Linked DNA regions of Homo sapiens: region 1 is linked to region 2. Evidence: promoter capture Hi-C in 16 types of primary human blood cells and fetal thymus (Javierre and others, 2016). All regions are on one chromosome and are shown on one strand. Each heading gives the region's core, a stretch centred on a gene start or on the middle of the fragment in contact. The rest is flanking DNA. Distances are from core to core; before and after follow the strand shown.

Region 1 (4,344 bases), core at 1,643-4,142, 92 kb after region 2:
GTGGCAAGACAAAGATTCAAGCCCAGGAAGCCCGAGGCCCAAGGCCTTGTAGATTGCAAGTGCAAAATCAATATCCTTTATTCAGTGGGTTCATACATCTAAATCAGTGCTTCTCATCCGTGGAAGATTTTGCCCCCCAGGGGACATTTGGCAATGTCCAGGGACATTTTTGGTGGTCTCAGCAAGGGAGCTTGCTCTGGCATCTAGTGGGCAGAGGACAGAGATGCTGTCTATATTGCTCAGGACAGCCCCCATAACTAAGAACCCTTCACCCCCAAATGTCAATAGTGCCGAGGTAGGGAAACCCTGATCTAAATACATAAAATTTCTACAAATCTATTAGCACTCTCTTTTTGGCATTGCCTCTGACATGAGGGCATTTGAGCAAATCTGCTTTAATGTATGAAAGATATTCTTCTTGAGAATTCATGCAGAATCACTCTCAATTATTTAATTTCCCCTAAAATCTCCTATTTACCCAATTGTTGGATTCCATCCAACAATTCTGCTACTACACCCTATAAGTGAAGGGGCTGTGATGGGGCCCAGGCAGAAGGAGAACCCCCTGGCTGTCAAGACACAGTGGCAAAGGGGCTTGGGCCCTGCATTGGGGATGATCAGCCCTGGCGCTGTGCGTGGAATGTTGCTGCTGTCCCTGGCAGGGAGCCGTGGCTCATCCGCATGCTGCTCTTCAGGGATGTCGGGACGTGTTCAACCCCAGGATGATTGAACAATTTCTGGGAACAACTTGTCAGCAGCTGCCCCTCCACTCCCCTCTTATCCAAAGCCCCAGTAATCAGCCCCAACAGTCTAGTCCCTGGCTTTGGGAAGCAGCACTGTTAATACTTCCTCTTCCACAGAGCATATGGGTGTAGCTAGGGGTGCAGGCTAGGGGTGGGAGAGGACCCAGGATGAGGTTACCCCATCTGAATGGTCATTGCACATCTCTCAGTAGTAAGCCCATTGCTTGCCCAAAAACTGATATTCAAGAGTTGGTGCTTGTTGAATGAATGAATACACAACCGGAAGGGTAAACCCTATGAGAGTCATTCATTCATTCAGAAGTATTTACGGGGTGCCTCACCATGCAGGGGACTGTCCTAGATACTGGGTGAACAAAAGAGACCAAGTGTCAGTTCTCATGAAGCTTACCTTCTAGTGGAGGGCGACAGATACCATATAAATAAACTAATAAATATGGAATATAGGTGGCCCTCTGCATCCACGGGTTCCACATCTCTGGATTCAACTAACTGCACATTGCAAAAATAAAAAAATAACAATACAACAATAAAAATAATACAGATAAAATACAGTATACCAATATTTCTATAGCATTTCCATTGTATTAGTTATTGAAAGTAATCTAGAGGTGACTTAAAGTATACAGGAGGACGTGTGTAGGTTTTGTGCAAATATTACAACATTTTATATAGGGGACTTGAGTAGCCCTGGATTTTGATATCCATGGTTACCAATCCCCCACGGATACAGAGGGACAGACTGTGTAATCTCTGGTAGTAGTGAACGCTATGAAGAAAGTAAAGTAAGTCAAGGATATTGAGACTGACAGATTGGGGGCGATGCTTAAATTGTGTGTTTGGGAGGGCTCCCCGAAGGCATGACGTTTGAGCTGAGATCTGAAGATCATGAAGGAGAGTCATACAGCCTCATTGGGAACAGTGCGTACAAAGGCCCTGCGGTGGGAACGTTCCCGAGGAGCTTGAAAAACAGTAAAATGACCCAATAGAGTAGATAAAGGTGGGTCCTGGCATTAGCTAAGAAAAGCAGTTCTCAACATGAGCTTGTGTCGGAGTCACCAGGAGGCCTTATGGAAGCAGATTGTGGGCTCCACCTCCAGTGTTCAGCTGGTCAGGGGTGGGGCCTGGGAAAATGCATTTCTTACTAATCCCCAGGTGATGCTGGTGTGCCAGTCCAGGGATCAGAGCATAGGGTATTTGTTCTTTCTGCACCACATCCTCCCCTATTCAACATTGACTACATGCAATCATAGATCATTACTGCTTGATCATCTGCCGCTCCACTGGGCTAGATGGTTCTGTCCACCTCTACGTCCTAGTGCTTAGCAAGCACTCAACAGAATATTTGTTGAATTAATTCCTCAAACAAGGGTTCTACTCTGGGTCTTGCCATTCCACCGTGTGTTCCATCTGCTGCCCTCCCAGAGCTCTGAGCCTTTGCATGTGCTGACCCATCCACCCAGCATTTGCCTTCCCCTGTGTCCACCTCGCAAATTCCTACAAGGCTCTCCTTTCAGAATATCCTTCCCGACTCCCTCTCCATCCACCCAGGGTTAGGAATGCTCCTCGAGGTGTACATAGGGAGTCCCATATCCACCTGTGGCACAGTGACTTGTCCACATGTTGGTCTTCCTTTCTTTACCAAAGATCGTAGATGAGCAGCCCCCAGGTTGAACCGGTCAACAGAGGTTTCTACTGCAGCTACAGTGTTTTAAATTTAAGTTCATTGCCAACACTAACAGGTCAGGGGATTTCACACAAAAATCCAGATTCCTGGCTCCTCTAGAAAAGTGTGCAACCCTGGGCCCGTATTCCCACATTGCCGTGATATCTCACCCAGAGGTAAAGCCTGGGGCTCTGTCATCCCCACCCTTCAGTGGATCCAGCAACCAACACCATGCCTGGCTGATGGTAGGCACTCAAGAAAAGCTAATTAATGAAAATGGAGAGACTATGCTGGATAATGGGGGAAAACAAAGAAACAAACATTGGTCCCCAGAGTCAAGAGATCTGAGGCTGGTTCTGGATCTGGCTGACTTGTTGCATGACCTTGGCCTCTCTGTGGCTCTTTCCTTTCTTCAAATGAATGAGAGTTTCCACTTCCCAGGGTCATGGTTTCATACAGGAGAGAGGATGTGAAGTGCTTAGCAGATGCCTCACATCTAATGCTCAATCAACGCAAGTTATTACGGCAAGGAACTCAATAAGTATTTGCTCTTTAGGAAGGGTGAGAAGGAGTTCAAATCCATCTCTGCTACTCACTAGCTAGGTGACCTTCGGTGTTTCACTTAATCTCATTTGGGCCCTAGTTTCCCCATCTATCAAATGGGGATGATACATGGTTATTGTGAATATCAAATGTAAATGTGAAATTAAACTAATTAATCCCTAAAATCACTTAGAACAAGGCCAGCCTTAAGTCTGTGGTCAACATAGGCCAGCTGTGACTATTAGAGCTGCTCAGAAATGGGATAACTCGAATTGCTCAGGAGCCCCCATGGCTCCAAAATTCTCTGACCACCTTAAACCTAGTGACTCTCATTCAGCTTACCTTCAGTCACAGAAATGTATAGAAGGCCCTTGGGTCCATGAGGTGAAGGGGGACAGAATTCACCATACAAGTGTTTACCATCTCTCTAGAAAGTTCTACAATGCTCTTATGATAATGCTGACTAAAATCACACAGAGTAGCAGCAACAAAAGGGAGACAGTGGGTGGGGAACAGAGAACAGCCCTGGGAGGGAGGTGTGATTATTACCTGCAAGAGTTAAAGAAAGAGGCAAGAAACATGAAAAGTGGCTCAACAGTTAAATACAGGTTTATTTTGGAGCATAAACCTGAGAGGGGCTTCTGGCCAATTTCAGTCAGGAGTGCTCTCTCTTACAGACTAAGAGTATTTAAGGGTTTAGGGCAAGAGAGCTTACCACAGGCTTGGAATGTTTCTGTGTGGAGGAGAAGTTTACTGTGGGGTTGGAATGTCTCCGGTCTGAGGGTGGGTTATGTTGGGGCTGACATCTCTCTGACCAGAGGGGAGGTTATCTTGGGGCTGCATGTCTCTGGTCGGGGGGTGGGTTTATCTTAGGGTTGGAATGTTTCTGATTGGAGATGTCACTTGTGGTTTATGGTCATTCTGACATTAGCCATTAGGCTGATGCCCTTTGGGTTGAATTTAGGCCGTTTTTGATCAAGGAGAACTTTAAAATGGCAGTGCTTGTCCAAGATGGCTATGCTCCGGCTCTGTCATTACCCACCTCGCAAAATGAAGGAACCAAGGCTTCGGAGGCTGCCCTGATGTGTGTCTGTGTCTTAGCTACGTGGAGCTGCCTCGGGAGGGTGACTCACCAAATGGGGTCCTTTAAGGGATTAACAGGGTCACTCATGGTGAACAGGTTGGCCTGGAGGGGAGCCGGCAAGAGGAAGGCAGAAGACCAGAAAGAGGCTTTTTGCTCACTCAGACCTGGATGTCTGAGACAGACTCACGTGATGTCACCAAAGAAGAAAAGCAGTTACGAGAAATGAAGGAGAAACAGACCTTTACCGTAGCGCCAGGAATGAATCCCAAGGAAAGAACATCTCAGACAAC
Region 2 (3,935 bases), core at 270-2,769:
ACTGTCCGGATGAGCGTAGGGATGGAAGCATTCTCCTCTGGCTCCGCACGCTGGTCACATGCCCTCCCCTTAGCTGGGCTCGGGGGACCCCCAGTGGCAGAGGCTGAGGCTGTAACCCCTTCCTTCCTCCTGGTGCCCAGCACTGTCCCAGGCACACAGCAGCACCCAGCAGGAGAGGCCCAGTGGCTGGCAGGTGGGCCAAGGCAGATGCCCACAGTGTGAGAGCCTGGCCAGCGTGGGGGCGGGGGTTACCTCTGCTCTCGGAGCTGCCATGCGGTCAACGCTGTTGCCCTGTGGGGACACGCTCTTGCTGTGGAGAGAGAAGAGGGGCTTGTTAGCCCTGTGATTCTCTCAGGGCCCAGCTTCCTGCTCCTGTGTCCAGAGGAGCCCCTTGCAAGGAGCAGGGAAGGCAGAGGAGACAGAAGATGCTGAAATGTGGCTGCAATTGCTCCTCTGGGCGGGCACACTTGTCCCCAAATCCTCACAACCTCTTTGGAGGTGGGATTGTTCTCCCTTCTTTATGGACCAGGAAGCCAGGCTCAGAAAGCAGGTGGGGAAGGGGATACACGCTCATTCGGTGCCTTTCACTTGCCAAAGTGTTCAGATGTGTTTGTTCCTCTGCTCCCTACAACCAAGCTCTGATGTAAATGTGACTGTTTCTAATTTTTCAGCTGAGGGAAACTGAAGGTTGGAGAGGTGAAGTGCCTTGCTCTGGGGCCTGCGGCTGCCACATGGCACAGCTGGAATTAAGACACACCTGCCTGTGTGCACAGGGGAGATGCCAGGCATGGAGAGGACCCTTGGAGACATTGGTGGGAGGAAGCAGAGGGAGGAGCTGGTGGGGAGCTCAGGAGCTCCGTCCTGCTTTTCCCAGAATTCTTAGTAGCAGCAACCTGGGCTTTGGAAGCCCAGCAGTCTACGAGTGGCTTGAATTTTTGGTGGGAAGGATGGGCTTTTTGGAATAAGGGAGGAACAGTGTGCTCTGGAGGCCAGCATGATACAACTAGAGCCATAGCTGGCCCCATGGAGCTCCAACACACCAGGGAGAAGGCATTCCCAGAGATGCTCAGAGAATGTTTGTGGATGGGGCAGCTTTTCCCTCCTCTCTGCCCCCAATTCTTTCCAGGCACCCAGAGCTTCTGGGCTATCCCCAGTAGTTGCTGTGGCACCAAACTCTCTGGAGTCAATATCCCAGTCCTCGTCTTCCAATCCTTATTATCACATTGAAAGGCACACACCCTCTGTCCCTCCAAGCCTGAACATGACTTTCTAAACCCATCTAATAAATCAAATCATCCTGGAGTGTCCAGGGATATGGCTGATCTGTATTTTCCTTCTCTCCTTTCAGGGAAAAGAGATGCTTTTCCAGCAGGGACCCAGGGCTCTGGCCATGTGGAAGCCCAGGGGCTGGTCACTTACACTTTCCGGGTGCGCGGGCGGAGCCGGCGGAGTGCCTGGGGCACCTGCTCTGAGTCATAGGGCGACTGGTAAAAGAAGATCCGGACGTCCTCATCCATCAGCACCCAGACCGGCAGGCTGAGCAGGCTCTGTGTGGGTGAGACAGCAGAACCGGTGGGGTAGTCAGCAGAAAGATCTGGACACCCCAGCCTAGATGTCCCGTCCCCGAGCCCTGACATCAGCCCTCCTCTCTTTACTAATGCATGATGCCTGATAACAGAAATGCGTTGTTTAAAAGAATAAGAAAACTCAGCATGCTGAAGGTAACACTTCACAAGCTCTGCTCCTGGGTCCAAGGTCAGGAGAGGGACCAGGGGCTTGAGAAGAGTCCATTTGGAAAAGACTTAAAGTTCTCCAGAAACAGCAGTAATGGTGATGACAACTAACATGACCCGGCGGTGACTTTACCAGGTGGGTATCACATGCGCGCCCTTGCTCCATCTCATGACATCCCTTGAGTTAGGATCAGAGAGGTGAAGGGATATGCTCAAGGCCACAAAGCCTAGCAAGGGACAGAGCTGGGGCACCCAGAGCCATCTGCCACTAAAGGCTACCCAAAGCTTAAGGTGAGACAACAGTTGGCGGGGGTGGGGGGCTCCCAAAATAACCCAAATTAACAACAGTTGGTGGCATTATAGCCTACAAAATGCTTCCTGATACTTTATCTCATATCATAGTTGAGGAAACTGATGCTTGGAGAGGGAAAGTACCTGGCCCAGAGGAGCCGAGCTAAGTGACAGGGCCCGGACTTGAGCCCTAGTGTCCTTGTTTCATCCAAGCTGGTTACACCCACCACGATGCAAAGACTTTGAAGCTGTGAGGACGCGAGCACCCAGAGCCTGGCGGGGTCATCTCACCAAACTCCAAGCGCACAGGTCTGGGGACACTGAGGGTTGGCTTTGGGTGCTGAGGCTCCAGAGGCACCCAGAGCCCTGCAGAGGATCCCATGGGGGCAGCAGGATGAGGTGGGGTCGGGGAACTTTGTCCGAGAGGAACTGGGGATGCAGAGCCCGGAAAAGGCTGTCATATGGGGACAGCCTGGGAGGTGTTTAAGGAGCCAGGGGCTCCTGGGATCGAATCCCAGCTCTGCCTGTCACCAGCTGGGTGGCTTTGGGCAAACCTGGCTCCAGATGGTCATTAATAAAATGGGGACAATAATAGCCTCTCCCTCGTGGGATTGTGTGAGAATTAAATGAGTAAATACATGCAGAATCCTTAGAACAACACCAGGCATATACCAGGTGCCCATCAAAGTTAGATGTCATCATTGTTACTGTGATTTTCATTACAACGAGGCACAGTGGGTAAGAGCTCAAACCCTGGAGTCACAGAGATGTGAATTCAAATCTCATCCCACCTACCTAACTGCTCTGTCACACTTAACTCACAAGTTATTGAGGGGATTAAATAAGATTATTCATTTATCAATAAACGTGTATCAAGAGTCTCCTGGTTGCCAGTCAAAGCTCTTCACGCAGTTCCAGGCAGTTGTCATTATCATGTGATTCACATTCTTCATGAGGGCGGGGTGAGACCAGTGGGTAGGACTTACAGAGAGTTGGGCTTTTCTCATAGCTGCCCAACAATGGGACAGGCAGCCTGGGTCAGGGCGGAGTGGTAGTGAGCTCCCCATCTCTGAGGGTATGCAAGCACAGGATGGGGTGGCCATGGCAGAGATTCCTGCCCTGAATGATCTCTGGCTTCCAGGAACCCAATTGGACACAAAGAGGCAGAGATGGATCCTCTGGGCTGCTGGTTGCTAAGACCAGGTGTGGAATGAGGAGCCCCAGTTCCCCAGCCTCGCCTCCTGCCTTCTCTTCCTCCTTCCCTCCCTCCCTCCCTTCACAGCCCACTCCCCTATTCTAGCCCAGGGGGAGAAGGGTGGAGCCTCAGCCACCCTGAAGGAGCAGCTGGAGCCCACCCAGCTCCCCTCCCTCCCTCTTCCCTGCTCAGAGCCCAGGATTCCTGCAGCTACCTGCTCTCTCCTCCTTCCTCCCACCTCCTCTGCCCTCCATCTGCTCCTTCCCTCCATCAGGAGTCAAGATCTCTCACATTCTGGAAGCAGGTTCACAGTTTACAAAGCACTTTCTCATCCTGTTCTCGACAGATCCCAACTTCACTCCTGTGATACTAGAGGGCACTGCCCCATTTCACAAGTGTGAAAACCAAGGCCTAGAGAGGATGGGCAACTCACCCCAAATCACCCAGCCAGTCAGTGTCAGAGTCAAGACTAAAGGATCCTAGCCCAGCGCTCTCCAGCTGTGAGGATGCCGCTGGGCTGGGAGGAGGGCTTCGCTTGCCAGCTTCCTGAGGTCACTATCAGGTCTCTAGCGACGGTGCACTCACTGCCACCTCATGAGGAACACTGCCCCTTTCCTGGATGGCTGTGGCTGGTGGAAGTCCTTTCCTGACCACCTTGGCCTCTGCCTTTAAGATGCTCCTTCCTCTACGCTCCCATCTCATAGAGATGCAGAGTT

Evidence for each region. Contacts are between HindIII fragments. The CHiCAGO score rates a contact against its expected background, and 5 or more counts as called.
Region 1: a contact is called between a fragment that was not itself captured here and the fragment with the promoter of NCF4-AS1 in region 2, in 1 of 17 cell types (endothelial precursors). The highest score is 5.4, in endothelial precursors.

What each region holds. Positions count from the first base shown.
Region 1 is chr22:36,777,410-36,781,753 of GRCh38, reverse strand. No RefSeq gene overlaps it. Among named protein-coding and RNA genes, the nearest start is that of IFT27, 3.5 kb to the right of the region's middle. RefSeq lists an enhancer at 4,243-4,344. The HindIII fragment of the contact is 3,486 bases long and covers 1,150-4,344 here.
Region 2 is chr22:36,868,027-36,871,961 of GRCh38, reverse strand. NCF4-AS1 (NCF4 antisense RNA 1) reads left to right here and starts at 1,519. Exons shown (of 2, transcript NR_147197.1): 1 at 1,519-1,869. NCF4 (neutrophil cytosolic factor 4) reads right to left here. Exons shown (of 10, transcript NM_000631.5): 5 at 1,420-1,547; 6 at 253-310. RefSeq lists an enhancer at 1-169. The HindIII fragment of the contact is 14,249 bases long and covers 1-2,020 here.